Linked DNA regions of Homo sapiens: region 1 is linked to region 2. Evidence: promoter capture Hi-C in human tissues and cell types (Jung and others, 2019). All regions are on one chromosome and are shown on one strand. Each heading gives the region's core, a stretch centred on a gene start or on the middle of the fragment in contact. The rest is flanking DNA. Distances are from core to core; before and after follow the strand shown. Region 1 has its middle 22 kb from the start of SNORD3G. Region 2 holds the start of BARHL2 (BarH like homeobox 2).

What was found. Contacts are between HindIII fragments. The study calls those that stand out against the background at their distance.
Region 1: a fragment that was not itself captured here is called in contact with the fragment with the promoter of BARHL2 in region 2 in 1 of the 25 tissues and cell types used here (neural progenitor cells).

The regions. Positions count from the first base shown.
Region 1 is chr1:90,678,704-90,681,403 of GRCh38, reverse strand. No RefSeq gene overlaps it. Among named protein-coding and RNA genes, the nearest start is that of SNORD3G, 22 kb to the right of the region's middle. The HindIII fragment of the contact is 8,683 bases long and covers 1-2,700 here.
Region 2 is chr1:90,715,902-90,718,802 of GRCh38, reverse strand. BARHL2 (BarH like homeobox 2) reads left to right here and starts at 1,501. Exons shown (of 3, transcript NM_020063.2): 1 at 1,501-2,232. The coding sequence starts at 1,608. The HindIII fragment of the contact is 10,681 bases long and covers 1-2,901 here.

The DNA of each region.
Region 1 (2,700 bases), core at 148-2,647, 37 kb after region 2:
GCCCAGGCTGGAGTGCAGTGGTGTGATCACAACTCACTGCAGCCTCAATCACCTGGGCTCAAGAGGTGCACCCCCCTCAGCCTTCTGAGTGGCTGGGACTACAGGCATGCACCACCATGTCTGGCTTATTTATTTTATTTTATTTTTTGTAAAGGTAGGAGTCTCACTATGTTGGCCAGGCTGATCTTGAACTCCTGGGCTCAAGTGATCCTCCTGCCACGACCTCCCAAAGTGTTGGGATTACAGGTGTGAACCACTAAGTCTGGCCTAAACTTTAAATATATATATATTTATATATATATATATATTTTTTACAAGTGACTTTCAGAGAAAAAAATAGCTGAGTACAATAGACTGTTTCACCTGGTGTTTCAATATTTAAAGTTTCCCGCCTTTCCTCTAGGCCAGATTATTACCTACATATTTTATGAATTTTTTGGAATTACTACATAACTGTCAGAGATGTATGGCTTGAATTACTATAACATATATCAGAGTGTCTGCTGAAGACATGCATACATTTAAAACAGTTATAAAAATAACACCAATATTAGCTTAACTTTTTCTTATTCTTGTCCCAAATCGTATTCTCATCTTTCCCTTACTTGAGGTAAACTTAATTTTACCATGTCACAAATTGGGTTTCTCATGAAACAGTCTCTGAGACTCTGAGATTTGTGTGTGGAAGTTTTTTTGGTGGGTGTTTTGGGAGACATACCTGTGAATGGTGAGGGAAGAATAATAGGGTTAAAGGAAAAGTTGAACTATGATTCAGTCACAATAGACATTTCAACTGATCTTACCTAGAGTCCTGAAACTGGGATGCCTGTGAAAAATTGTCTGTCTTAAAGCAAGGAGGCCAAGGCTATACCCCCACATTGGTTAGTCACTGGATGCAGACCTTCCCCATGGAGGAGAGAGAGCCCTAGGCAGGACAGCTTTCTTTGGCAGGTTTCTACTTGTGGCAAACATACTGCTCTAAACATCCATGTACAGGTTTTTGTGTGAACATAAGTTTTCATTTCTCTAGGATGAATACCCTAAAAATAGCTGAGTAAAACAGATGGATGTGGGATTGTTGGATCATATGGTAAGCGTAGGTTTAATTTGATAAGAAACTGCCAGGCTGTTTTCCAAAGTGGCTGTACCATACTGCATTCCTATCAGGAATGTATGAGAGTGCCAGTTGCTCTGTGTCCTTGTCAGCACTTGGTATTGTTTTTTGTTTTTTTTTTAGCCATTCTAGTAAGTGCATAATGGTATATCATTGTGGTTTTTAATTGTGTTTCCATAATGCCTAATGATATCATATTTCTTTTCATGTGTTTATTAGACATTCATTTTTGTCTTCATATCTTTTTCCCATTTTAAAAATGAAGTTGATTGTTTTCTTATTGCTGAGTTTTGTGAGTTTTTAAAGTGTATTCTGGAAACAAATCCTTTATCAGGTATGAGATTTACAAATATTTTTTCTCCAATCTATGATTTGTCTTCTCATTCTCTTTATGATTTTCTTCATAGAACAATATATTTTCATTTTGATGAAGTCCAATTTATTAATTATTCTTTTATAACGGATTGATCACTTGGTGTCTTATCAAAAGACTCTTTGATTAACCCAAGGTCATGAAGATGTTTATCTACATTTCTTTTCTGAGTTTCATATTTTTCTATTTTACACTTAAGTCTCTGACACATTTTGAGCTAACATTTGTGTGTGGTATTAGGTTAAGGCTGAAGTTCAATTTTTTGCATATGATATGCAGTTGTTCTAAGTATCGTTTGTTGAAAAGATCACCCTTTCTCCATTGAATTTCCTTTGCACCTTTATTAAAAATCAACCAACCATAATTATGTGGATGTATTTGTGAACTTTTTGTAATGTTGCATTGATCTATGTGTCTGTCCTTTCATCTTTTACCAGTCTTGATTGATATAGTTTTATCATACATTTTACTGTTGGGTAATGTTGAGTTATCCAGCTTGGTTCATTCTTTTTCAAAATTGTTTTAACTGTTGTAGTTCCTTTACTTTTCCATACAAATTTTAGAACAGGCTTATCTATATCTGCAAAATATCTCTCTGGGATTTTAATTGCTATTGTGTTAAATCTAGATTACTTTGGGGAAAATTGACATCTTATTTATGTTGAATATTCTAATCTATGGAAATGGAGTGCCTTTCTATTTACTTAGGCCTTCTTTCTGAGTATTTCATAGTTTTCAGCGTATAGATCTGTGTATGTTTTATTTTTTAGGGGGCGATTGTAAATGGTACTTTTTAAAAATTTCAGTTTTCAGTTGTTCATTGCTAGTATATAGAAAAATGATTGATTTTTGTATGTTGACCTTGTATTCTGTGATTTTGTGAATGTACTTGTTGCTTTAAGAGCATTTGGTAGATTCCTCAGTAGCAGTCCCCAACTGTTTTGGTACCAGGGAGTGGTTTCCTGGAAGACAATTTTTTCATGGATGGGGGTCGGGGGATGGTTTCTGGATGAAACTGTTCTATCTCAGATCATTAGGCATTAGTTAGATTTTCATAAGGAGCTTGCAACCCAGATCCCTGGTGTGCGCAGTTCACAATAGGGTTCCTGCTCCTATGAGAATCTAATGCCACCGCAGATCTGACAGGAGGCAGAGCTCAGGCAGTAATTTTCCCTTGCAGATGCTCACCTCCTGCTATAGAGCCCAGTTCTTA
Region 2 (2,901 bases), core at 252-2,751:
CAGTGAACCGTGGCTGCCCTCGCCACCAGAGAACGCCTCGGGCATTAGCTCCCCCGTTCGGGAGAAAGCGTCTGGCCAGGCATTTTTTCCAGCTGGAGACCAGGCTGGTTCCCCAGCTTGGAGCCTCAGGCCTCGTCCTCCCCGAGAGCGCCTGGTGGACGCGGACCCGGCTGTGTCCCTCTCAGGGATCCGCCTCCCGCCGGGCTGAGCCCGAGCGCCTGGGTTCGTCGGGCGAGAAATCAGAGCCCAGAGCCGACCCGCCCGCTTATGCAAGGCTCCGGCGCCTGAAGTGACACACTTTTCTGTGGATTCCTTCAGGGATCTCCTTCCTCCGCTCTTAATGTCTTCGGACTATTCCCGCGCGCGTTTGGGGAGGCTGCGAGGGCCGCCGCGCTGGAGCCTAAAGGTAAGTCCCTTCCCGTCCTCTTCTCTCTCTCTTCTGACTTAAGAAAACGGGCGAATCCTTGCTACTTTTTTTTTTCTTTCTCCCCTTTGGTTCCCTTTCTCTGGTCTCCCTCTGATCTCTTCCTCCCTCTCCCTTTGCCTCGCACTCGTGATTGTGGACACCGGGACCACTGGACTCGGAGTTCGGCTCAGGGCTGCGGGCTCAGGGATGTGCGGGTTCTCAAAAGAGCAGCGGAGTCCGAGCCGAGTCCGCTGACGGGCTCACGAGCGCTGCGCCTATTGGCTCCCTGGCACGTCGGCGTCCCTCGCTCGCGCGGGCGCGGCCAATAGGGGCGCGGGGCCGGACGCGCGGCCTCGGTGGCGGGGGCGCGGGCCCGGCGCGGCGCGGCGCGGGGAGCGGCGGTAGTGGCCGTGACGTCACGGGAGGGGGTCGGCGCCGCCCGCCAGCAGCCGGATTACAAGCGAACGCGCCCGGCAGCGGCCGGAGTCGCCCGGCATCGCGTCTCCGCCGCTTCCTCCTTCTGTGCCTGCTCCTTCTCGTCGTCCTCCTCTTCCTCCTCCTCCTCGGGTTGCCGCAACCGCTGCGGCCGTGTCTGCCCCGCAACTTTCCAAGAAAGTTCAGAAACTCGGCTACGGGGCTGCCGAGTGGCGCGCGGCTGCCACCTCGGGAGCCGCGGGGGAGTTCCGAGGGCGCGCGGCCGCCCGGGCTTCGCGGTCGCTGCACCTGCCGCGTCCGCCGCCGCCACCGCTGCCGCCCGGTGCCAGGCTGTGGGCAGACCCCGGCAGCGGCGGCGGCGGCGGCTTTGGCGTAGCTTCCCGCCGCCTGCGCCTTCGCCTTCGCCTGCGCCTTCGCCTTCGCCTTCGCCTTCGCCTGGGTCCTCCGCGCCGCCACCGCCGCGCCACGTGCGCAGTCGTTCCTGGAGCGCAAGTTCCGAGTTTTCTCAGAAATTTTTTTAACTCCCCCCGCCCCCCGCATCTTTTTTCTTTCCACCCCTACTTTTTGCATAAAAGAAAAAAAGTTGTGTCGAAAGTATCCACAGATTGCCACTTCCCAATTACCCTTCCTTCTCTCCCCGCCCCACTTTTTTTTTTTTAAGCGGCGGCAACATTGTTTGGTGTTTATTTTGTTTTACGATCGATAGCTTTCTTCGCTGGTTCGGGGCGGCTGCTGAACGGCGGAGTGGCGTGGACCTCATGTAGCAATGACAATGGAAGGGGCCAGCGGGTCGAGTTTTGGAATAGACACGATTTTGTCCAGTGCCAGTTCAGGCAGCCCAGGCATGATGAATGGAGATTTCCGCCCGCTCGGTGAGGCCAGGACCGCGGATTTTAGGAGTCAGGCCACCCCATCTCCCTGTTCGGAGATTGATACCGTAGGGACGGCGCCTTCTTCTCCTATCTCAGTCACCATGGAGCCCCCGGAGCCGCATCTGGTAGCAGACGCGACCCAGCATCATCACCACCTCCACCACAGCCAGCAGCCGCCGCCGCCGGCCGCGGCCCCGACGCAAAGTTTGCAGCCTTTGCCCCAACAGCAGCAGCCGCTGCCGCCACAGCAGCCGCCGCCGCCGCCCCCCCAGCAGCTGGGCTCGGCCGCCTCGGCCCCCAGGACTTCCACGTCTTCTTTTTTAATTAAGGACATCTTGGGCGACAGCAAACCTCTGGCGGCATGTGCACCCTACAGCACCAGCGTATCCTCTCCCCACCACACCCCGAAGCAGGAGAGCAACGCAGTGCACGAGAGCTTCAGGCCAAAGCTCGAGCAGGAGGACAGCAAGACCAAACTCGACAAGCGGGAGGATTCCCAGAGCGACATCAAATGCCACGGTGAGTCCCGCCACCCGGCGCTCTCGGCCGTCTAGCTTGTCCTCCTGGTTCCCAATCTCCCCTTCAGCCTTCAGCAGATCTCTGCTGGGGAGCGATTCCAGGAGCTTCTCGGGCGACTGGGCGACGGTCAAAAGACTGCAGCTGAAGGGAGGCCTGGGCGTGCGATGTGGGGACTCCTCGAAGTTCTGTTTATTGTTCTACCCCACAACCTTCACGGCCATCCAGCTCCTTCCTTTGTTTTATTTAATTTTAATCTACTGGGGGTTGAGGGGCGGCGGAGGGCATCCGACAGGAAATACTTTTCGTTGATAAAAGGGATGGACTTGGGGTTTTTCTAGCCTAGACTTTGGGAATGGGAATGGGGGGAGGTAGGAGAGAGAAACCACTTAGCTAGCGTGGGTGTGATCACAACCTGGTGTTTATTCTTTAGTACAAGTGATTTCACCCCCCCCCCACTTTATTTTCTTAACATCATCACAGGAATTATCGGTTTTAATGGAGGAAAAATTTCTGAGTTCATGAACAGAGCAACTTTAAAAAAATTAGATTGTGGTTAGCCCGTAAAAATTTGTAATAAGTTTCTTAAAAGCACCCTTCTTACCCTATGGCCTCAACTGAGTATCTGTATCCTACAAAGATTTTTGGCCCCTTACAAGTACTTAGGAGGTA